Regions from separate parts of the Homo sapiens genome. Here region 2 is linked to region 1. The links are contacts of gene promoters, found by promoter capture Hi-C in blood cells and fetal thymus (Javierre and others, 2016). All regions are on one chromosome and are shown on one strand. The core of a region is centred on a gene start or on the middle of the fragment in contact, and the rest is flanking DNA. Distances in the headings are between cores, read along the strand shown. Region 1 holds the start of TMEM44-AS1 (TMEM44 antisense RNA 1). Region 2 overlaps ATP13A3 (ATPase 13A3).

Evidence for each region. The method cuts DNA at HindIII sites, captures the fragments that hold promoters and counts their contacts. A CHiCAGO score of 5 or more calls a contact.
Region 2: a contact is called between a fragment that was not itself captured here and the fragment with the promoter of TMEM44-AS1 in region 1, in 1 of 17 cell types (erythroblasts). The highest score is 5.2, in erythroblasts.

What each region holds. Positions count from the first base shown.
Region 1 is chr3:194,580,620-194,585,517 of GRCh38, forward strand. TMEM44-AS1 (TMEM44 antisense RNA 1) reads left to right here and starts at 3,649. Exons shown (of 3, transcript NR_047575.1): 1 at 3,649-3,829. RefSeq lists enhancers at 2,915-3,580, 3,616-3,665 and a silencer at 3,166-3,425. The HindIII fragment of the contact is 5,912 bases long and covers 1,751-4,898 here.
Region 2 is chr3:194,415,718-194,420,801 of GRCh38, forward strand. It overlaps ATP13A3 (ATPase 13A3), which reads right to left. Exons shown (of 34, transcript NM_001367549.1): 31 at 4,162-4,250. Among named protein-coding and RNA genes, the nearest start is that of GP5, 19 kb to the left of the region's middle. The HindIII fragment of the contact is 188 bases long and covers 1,444-1,631 here.

The DNA.
Region 1 (4,898 bases), core at 2,399-4,898:
ACTAAAAATACAAAAAAAAATTAGCCAGGCATGGTGGCAGGCGCCTGTAGTCCCAGCTACTCAGGAGGCTGAGGCAGGAGAATGGTGTGAACCCGGGAGGCGGAGCTTGCAGTAAGCCGAGATCATGCCACTGCACTCCAGCCTGGGCGAGAGAGCGAGACTCTGTCTCAAAAAATAAAAATAAAAAATAAAAAATAAAAGTCAGTTGCCAAATCACGGTGCTTCACTCCTAAGTAGTTCAGCATGTATATCCAAAGGGGCGTTCTCCTGTGCAACCATAATATTATTAAGAAAGGAAACAATAAAGTTAGCTAATACACTGTACATATTCAAATTTGCTCAATTGTCCCAGTAATCCCATATAGCTCTCCCACCCCATCCCCACTGCAGACTCCTTTAAACTAGAACAGTTCTCTTAAGATGTATTTAAGTATTTCCACAGTCAAGAAACATCTACTACAAAAATCCACATAATCTTTTTACAACAGAATCTAATGACTTCTAAGACTTTTCTGATCTATCAAAATTTTTCTTATAATTGTGAATGGTGGCTCAAGCTCTCTTGTGTTCTACCTTTACTAGTTTACATTATGGTTTTGTTTTTTTTTTGAGACAGAGTTTTGCTCTGTTGCCCAGGCTGGAGTGCAGTGATCACTGCAACCTCCGCCTTCTGGATTCAAGCAATTCTCCTGCCTTAGCCTCCCGAGTAGCTGGGATTACAGGCGTGTGTCTAATTTTTGTATTTTTAGTAGAGACGGGGTATTCACCATGTTGGCCAGGCTGGTCTTGAACTCCTGACCTCAGGTAATCTGCCCCCACTTGGCCTCCCAAAGTACTGGGATTACAGGGGTGAGCCACTGCACCCGGCCTATTAGCTGACATTATCTTTCATAATTTTTTTTTTTTTTTTTTTACTGTGTGTGAACTGAGAATTCATGCTGTGAGAACAGGCAAAGCCACTCAGGCACTGCAGTAGATGATTTCAAGGTAATTCATGTCTGTTCTTCAATCCATGGTTCTGTGATATTTTAGGTTTAATGGCAAAATGTCATTTCTTCATTAAAGCATAATGTTTGGGCCAGGTGTGGTGGATCATGCCTGTAGTCCCAGCGCTTTGGGAGGCCGAGGAAGGTGGATCACTTGGGGTCAGAAGTTCAAGACCAGCCTGGCCAACATGGCGAACCCCGTCTCCACTAAAAATACAAAATGTAGCCAGTCATGGTGGCACGCGCCTGTAGTCCCAGCTACTCGGGAAGCTGAGGCAGGAGAATCGCCTGAACCCAGGAGGCAGAGGTTGCAATGAGCTGAGATGGCACCACTGCATTCCAGCTTGGGCAACAGAGACAGACTCCATCTCAAAAAAAAAAAAAAAAAAGTATGTTTAATTCTGCACAACAGTGGGGTTTGGGAGCTTTATCACTTTTTTTTTGTTTGTTTGCTATTCTAAGTAGTTTTGTGAGAACATCTCATACAAATAGATCTGTTTTAAAAGTAATTTCCCGGCTGGAGTGGTGGCTTGTGCCTGTAATCCCAGTACTTTGGGGGACCAAGGCAGGAGGATCTCTGGAGCCCAGGAGTTCGGAACCAGCCTGGGCATCATAGTGAGACTCCGTCTCTGTATTTGAAAATGATAACAAAATACCAAGAAGAGATGGAAAAAGTAAATACATAAAAGCAATTTCCCGAGGACAGTGTTTTTCAGAGACTGGTCCTGGACCATCTGTAGCAGAATCACCTGAGGAGCCTGCTAAGCTTCCCAAGCCCTGCCCAGACCTAGGGAATCCTCCGGGTGGAGCCTAAGAGTCTACATTTGAGTATCAGGGCTTTAGGCTATACTGGCTAGCAGAAGGTAAGGCCCATGAAATGGCCCTTTTCATCCATGGCCATGCTGTCCTTGGGAAAGATGGTGGTGGCCGCCGTGTATGACGTCCCTTGTTCCAGCTGTGGGTTTAGAGAATCCCTCAGATTTCCTCTGGAGATTCCAGGTGCCAAGACACCTGTAGGAGGAAGGCCGGAAGGGAAAGGTCAAGTCCGGAGCAGAGGCGTGGACCGCGGCAGGCTGCTGTTGGAGCGTGCTGGGCTCAGAAGCCGGGTTCTAGCTAGGAAACTGCGGAGTGGCCAAGGAGTTCCTGGCGCGAGGCACGCCACACAACCCTCGGATGCGAAGACGGTGACCATCCATTTCTCAATACGCCAGTGGCCCTGCCGTGCTACTGAGCCTCGTCAGCCTGTATAATGGAAGCTGAAGATGATGCAGCTCAGGAAAAGCAAGTATGATCTTAAGAACCCTGTAGCTGGAAAGCATGTTCCAAATCAAACCTAATGGAGACAACTACTAGAAGGTATAAAAGTTTTTTTTTTTTTTGAGACAGAATTTTGCTCCTGTTGCCTAGGCTGGAGTGCAGTGGCGCGGTCTCAGCTCACTGCAGCCTCTGCCTCGCCGGTTCAAACGATTCTCCTGCCTCAGCCTCCCAAGTAGCTGAGACTACAGGCGCCCACCACCACGCCCGGCTACTTTTTGTATTTTTGGTAGGGACGGGGTTTCACCATGTTGGCCAGACTGATCTCAAACTCCTGACCTCAGATGATCCGCCCGCCTCACCCTCCCAAAGTGTTGGGATTACAGGCGTGAGCCACCGCGCCCAGCCCAAAAGATTTTAAAAAGGAGTCTCTTGGAGGCAAAGGGACAGAACATTATTGTTTTTCATCATAAACCTTTTGGTGCAATCTGATTTTCTTTTTTTAAACCATGTACTTGCACTATTTTTATCTCAAAAAAGGTTTTTAATGCATTTAAAAACAAAGAAAAGAATGGTTTATAATACACCGTTAGGCTTCTGGGAGGTCTGAAACACACTATGAACCGTAAAATAACCTTGTAATTATCTCCTTAAAAACCGAGTGGGGTGGGCCAGGCGTGGTGGCTCACGCCTGTAATCCCAGCACTTTGGGAGGCCGAGGCGGGCGGATCACGAGGTCAGGAGTTCGAGACCAGCCTGACCAACATGGTGAAACTCCGTCTCCACTAAAAATACAAAAATTAGCCGGGCGTCGTGGCGCGCCCCTGTAGTCCCAGCTATTCAGTCGCAGAAGAATCGCTTGAATTCGGCAGGCGGAGGCTGCAGTCAGCAGAGACCGCGCCACTGCATTCCAGCCTGGGCGACAGAGACTCCGTCTCAAATAAACAAACCAAAACTGAACTACGGAGACGCCCTCGACAGTTCTTTCCCGGCTGCGTCGCCGCTGGCTGAGGTCAGAAACGCCGGCCTTCGGCTGCGGCGGCGGCTGCGGCGGCGGGGCGGGGCCGCGGGACTCTCGCTCCTCGCGGGAGGCGGTGGCTGCGGAGTGCGCACGCGCGGAACCGCAATTCCGTTCTTCCCGGAAGTGCCCTGCTGGTGCTGGGAGTAGGGCGCAAGATGTCGGCGGATGCAGCTCCGAGGAGGTAGGCAGTGGGAGCCGGCGTTCAGTCCGGCCCGTGCCAACAGTGGTTCCTCTCTCCCCCGTAGTTCGAGGAGACCACGCGCTGCCCCTCTGGCACGATCGTGGATGAACCCCCTGGCAACTGAAATGGGAAAGGCAGCGCCCCCGACTCTGGGGACTGGACCGAAGTCCACGGTAGTGACAGCTGCCAGACCCTGAGGAGAGGACGAGAAGACCCGAGGCCTCTGCTACGAACACTGGCAGCCGATGGAAAATTCAGACGGATTTGGGACAGTATGCAGAGTTCTCCAAGCGACAGATTAACAGAGGCTCTTGAAGAATAACTGCGTAATCACGTGTTCTGCTCAAAAGAAGGCCTGAATGCCCAGTGCCTTATTTGGCTTTCAGGGTTGGTGAAAGAAAAAGCAAAGTAGATGCTTTCTAATGCTAAGTCATTTAATGTAGCACCATTCCTTGAACTTCTTTCATCTCTAAGGTCGTCCCTTTCACCTGATGATGACCTTTGGGCCATCGTACAGGCATGTGTAAACTTGGAGATCTTCCTCAACATTGCACCATATCTTGGGTTCATTCAAGGCAGAGTCTCCTTGCAAAAGCATTCTAAAACAATGTAAAGTCGAAGAGAGTAGAGCAATACCTCCATAGTTGGAAAATGTGGAGGAGGCCAATTAAGGGACAGAAAAAGAAGTGCAGAGAATCTTGGAATTGTTGCAAAATTATTCTGGAGATATTTCTAAGTCTCCTCTATCCTTTTCCTTAGTGATTAATACAGGTTTTTATATTAAGTGGACAGTAAAATCCAAACAGAAAGAGGTATATGTCGTATAATGAAGCCTATGTTCAAAGTATATCTGAAATTTGTTTTTATAATGTCTTTCTTGAGAGCTTATAAAGATGTCAGTATTCTGTGGGAAACAAATTGGCACATGCATAAAAGAGAAAAAATGAAAAAAATCAGGCCCAACTTTCAGTTTACAGATGAGGAAACTGTGACATAGAAAAGGAAATGACAAAGATCACACTGAATCAGACCTGGGAACTGGAGCCCAGCCATGCTCCTTGGCCCAGTGCCTCTTCTTATTCTAGGAGCTCATACCCCTTTGAAAGAAACATAATATGAATGTGTCTTCAAATGATGCTCATAAATCTCTTCATCATACTGAGGGAGGGAGATAAGGGGATTAGTTCTTCAGGATCTAGACAGGCTTTCAAGAAAATCTTTAGCTGGGTGCGGTGGCTCATTCGTGTAATCCCAGCGCTTTGGGAGGCTGAGGCAGGTGGATCACCTGAGGTCAGGAGTTCCAGATCAGGCTGGCCAACAGCGTCTCTACTAAAAATACAAAAATTAGCCAGGCATGGTGGCGGGAGCCTGTAATCCCAGCTACTCGGGAGGCTGAGGCAGGAGAATCGCTTGAACCTGGGAGGCGGAGGTTGCAGTGAAGTGAGATCGTGCCATT
Region 2 (5,084 bases), core at 288-2,787, 170 kb before region 1:
GGAGTGCAGTGGTGTGATCTTGGCTCACTGCAAGCTCCGCCTCCCGGGTTCACACCATTCTCCTTACAATACCACATTGTTTCTAATAGCAAAACACTGGAACCAACCTAAATATCCAGCAAAACAGGACTAAACAAATTACTAAAAAGTCCCTGCAATGGAATACTCATTTCACAAACTTTGTAAGTTTAAGTTATATAACTTTAAGATCAAACCTGTCCGTAACATACAAGAAAAGAAAATTAAATCTGATCTCATTCATGCAGAGGCAAAAATCCAAAACAAAATCATAGCAACCTAAATCCAAATTTCAAAGAGTGTGCATCATGACCAAACTGAATTTATTCTAGAAATGCAAAGTTAGTTCAATATTTGAATACTGATCAGCTATAATTCATCACATTCTTCAGGGAGAAAAACTGTGTGACCATTTCAATAGCTGCAGAAAAAGCATTAGATTGGCTGGGCACAGTGGCTCACACCTGCAATCCCAGCACTTTGGGAGGCCACGGTGGGTGGATCGTGAGGTCAGGAGTTCGATACCAGTCTGGCCAGATGGTGAAATCCCATCTCTACTAAGAACACAAAAACTTAGCCAGGCATGGTGGCACACGCCTGTAATCCCAGCTACTTGGGAGGCTGAGGCAGGAGAATTGCTTGAACCCGGGAGGTGGAGGTTGCAGTGAGCCGAGATCATGCCACTGCACTCCAGCCTGGGCGACAGAGCGAGACTCCATCTCAAAAAAAAAAGCATTAGATAAAAATTTAAAACCACTTATGTTAACAACACTGTACAACTAAGGAAGCTTCCTTAACCTGATAAAGACTATACACTAGAAATATACAGCAAACAGTTTATCTAATGGTGAACTATTAGGAACACGTCCTTTAGAGACAAGAGTAAGACAAGGATATCACTATCACTATAACTAATATATTAAGACATGAAAAATACAGAAAAAGCACATAAAGACTGTGAAATGTCAGAAACAAACTGCTGGGGAGTCAAGTAAGTAATTACAGCTTGTAATTACTTATATATGATGCCTGTCTAAACAGAAAATCCTAGACAATCTAAAATGTGTCTGAATAAAGTCTGATAAGGCTTCTGGGAACAAGATGAATATCTAAAACAACTGTATTGAGTTCAACAACATAAAAAATTAGAAAATGTCATTTTAATTATAATTTATCAAGGGATCAAAAACTGTTATTACTCTAAGAATCTAACAAAAAATGTACAAAAACCATTAGGGAGAAAACTATCTGACTTACTGAAAGACATTAGGTCAAAAAGACAGAAACAGAACGAGATACTGTTTGTGGGAAGGAAAACTAATGAATTCACCCTCAAAATTTATTGATCAACTCTGTGTAATTCTAATAGTTCCGAAAGGGCTTTTCCTGGTATTTGACAAACTAAACTTAAAAGTTAAGAAGAAAAGCTTAGCTGGGCACAGTGGCTCACCAAGGCAGGGAGCTCACCCGAGGTCAAGAGTTCAAGACAAGCCTGGCCAACATGGTGAAAACCCATCTCTACTAAGAATAGAAAAAATTAGAGCCAGGCGTTGTGGCAGGTGCCAGCTACTCGTGAGGCCGAGGCAGGAGAATCGCTTGAATCCGAGAGACAAAGCTTGCAGTGGGCTGCACTCCAGCCTGGGTACCAGAGCCAGATTCTGACACACACACACACACACACACACACACACACACACACACACACACACAAAAGGAGGAAGAAGGAAAGCTCAAGCACAGCCAAAAAGGTCATGATGAACAACAATGTGAGAGGGGGGTAGGAGTCCTACCCAAGCATGTATCAAGGTTTCTTATAAAGTCATGGTAGCATGGACAATATAGTACTGGCACAAATAAAGAGAACTAAACAACAAAATATGGAGTCCCTAAAACACTATTAGTCATATATATGGAAAACTGTGGCCAGGCGCCATGGCTCATGCCTGTAATCTTAATACTTTCGGAGGCTGAGGCAGGAGGATCACTTGAGCCCAGGAGTTGGGGGTCAGACTGGGCAACACAGTGAAACCCCATTACAAACCCCATTTATAATTTTTATTACAAAAAATTTTAAAATTTGCTGGGTGTGGTGGTGCACAACTGTGGTCCCAGCTACTCAGGAGGCTGTGGTGGGAGGACCACTTGAGCCCAGGAGGTCGAGGCCACAGTGAGCTGAGATCATACCACTGCACTGCAGCGTGGGTGACAGACAGACGGACGGACGGAAGGAAGGAAGGAAGGAAGGAAGGAAGGGAGGGAGGGAGGGAGGGAGGAGAGGGGAGGCGGGGGAGGAAGGAAAGAAGGAATGAAGGAAGGAAGGAAGGAAACTGATATAAGACAAAGGTATCACTGAATATCAGTGGCAAAGACAAACTTCAATAAGCAATTGCTGAAACAAATGGGTATGCGTAAGAGAAAAAAAGAAAAAGAAATTTGATCCCTATTCAAAAGCTATACATAAAATTAATTCCAGATGGATTAAAGACTAAATGTGAGAGTATCTTTATAACTTTGAGATGGACAAGTCCGCCAAACTGAGACACGAGGAACAAATAAAGAAAGAAATTAATAAATTTGCCATGTCAGACTATAAGTTTGTTTTTTAAAAAGAGATATTATAAACAAAGTAAAAAGACAAGCCACAAACTGGGAGAAGATATTTATCACTATACAGTCAAATATAATACATTAAGAACTCTGAAAACTAAGTTTTAAAAAAAAGACAACATCCTAAAAATTTTTAAAAAAGACAACATCCTAGAAAAAATTGGCCAAAGGCATGAATAGGCAGTTCACAGAGAAAATAAAAATGGCCATTAAACACATGAAAAAATGCTCAACTCCATTAGTAAAGTTAATGAGCAAAGTAAAACCATCATGATATAACATTTTACACCCACTGGACAAGACCAAGTGTTGGCAATGATGTGAAACAACAGGATGTCAAACACTGATGGATGATTGATACAATCACTTTGGAAAACAACTTGGCACGTGGTAGCTGAAGAGTACATGCTCATCATGATACCAGAATACAGCAGAGGAAACTTTTGTCCCTAATGGTTTGCCAAGGGTAGTAGTGGAAGGAGTATATTACCACTGGAAGTGTCTGGAATTACCAGCACATGGCAATATTTAAAAAGCAGATGGACTTCTACTGGGCTTAATCACTGTTTGCAAATTCTCTACAGCATCGCACCACTCTCTCACTGCTTGTACCTGGGATAAACCACTCCTACTCCACTCTTTCATACACTATTACTTACCCCCATACACTGAAAGACATGTAAAAATATGTTCATAGCAGCAATATGTTCAGTAATTATTTACCAACAGAGGATGGAGAAATGAATTTAATATATTCCTACAATTGTATACTATACAGCAATGAAAATAAAATAATGTATCAACAAACAATGTTGATGGGAGAATGCAAGTCACAGAAAAAAGGGAACAAGATAACATTTTCATGAAGTTCAAGAGCACACAAAACTATCTTTTATGACTGCAAACATATATGGTAAGTATATAATGAAACAGGGAATGACAGGGAAAATCATCAAAACAGGTACATGAGAGTGCCTTATTGATTGGTAACGTTACCTTTTTTTTGTTTTCTTTTGTCACTGACTTGTGCTCAGGTAATGTTCATTTTTTCAGGTTGGATGATACACTCAGGGTGTTATCTCTTTACTATTTTTTAATTATGGCTAACAACTTAAATATGTGTGCATATTCTTTTGTATGAAAAACAAGTATTTCATTACTCAGAAAGTTTTTAATGAAAAGAATTGAAGAACTAAATGGCCAAAACACAAAAGGGAGCATGTGTAGACTACTCAAGAAGTAGACTGGTAGAGAAGAGAGGAGTAACAGGTACCAGGATCAACGTTTTTTTATGTTTTTAAAGACCAAGGGCTATTTAATTTGTTTGCAGACAAATGAAAACGGCACCAGAAGCAGAGATTAAACAGGTATAGCTAAGAAAAGCTGCTATTTTCATTAGGTTCTTTATTCTCTGTAGAGTATCTTTGGGTTAATATAACAGCATCTTAGAATACACAAAAAGAAGAGATCCTGGAAAAAAAGAAATGTATACAGGTTAGTCTTTTTCCCCAAACAAATGATGTGCTTAAGTCTTACCTGAAGAACCTGGTCAACAGAGGCAACTGGATACAACATGATGAATAATATAAAAATATATAAAAAAATCACAGAAAAAACAAAAAAATCTGGAAAAGACAGCAAAAGTAAAACAAGTAAATTAGGAAATTCCTTTATATAAAAAGGCATCCAATAACAGCTGGTATACTGTCATTTGTAAATTTGGTTTTGAATACTTTCACTTCAGTTGATGGAATAAAGTATGTGCTCTGTTATCTCCTGGAGTATGAGACATTGTTCGGGGCACCCAAAAGATTCACATACACAACGTGATGTTATGTTTAAACTCCATTAACTTTAACCGTGAAAGTCCTTCAGAAAATAATCAGCACTTAAAAAAATAAGACTCAGACCTTCACAGACATTTGTATGTCGCCCAAATGGATAGCTACTTTGTAAGATAATAAAGCCAATACATAATGCACAAATAAGAGACTAAACTATGTGTGGCAAAATGAGATTATCATTTAAAACATGTATTCAATGACAATTACTATTGACTGTAAAAATGCTGAATAACACTTATTTTCAGTATTGGGTATGTCTTAATCCTAAATAGAGGCATTCTAACCTAAATGTAAATGTATTTCTAGTAAGTGAATCCCATTTTTTCACTGATTTACACTGTGAAAATGTTTTCACAGAAAATCTTAGCCAAAAGCCAAGAGACTGAGTTGATCTACTATTTTTCAAAGTGGGCTGACCTTATGGCTTGCTATGGGAGCTGGGAATGGCAAATCCACCCAGCAGTACTTTGTCTCACTTTCCTAACTCAAAAACCAAACTGCTTGCTCATGGCCATTTTCTTAAGTGTGTACATCTACACATATACACACATGTATATAAGCATATACTTGTATAATAATAAGCCATAAAAGTGGCTCCAAAATTTTCTAATATAT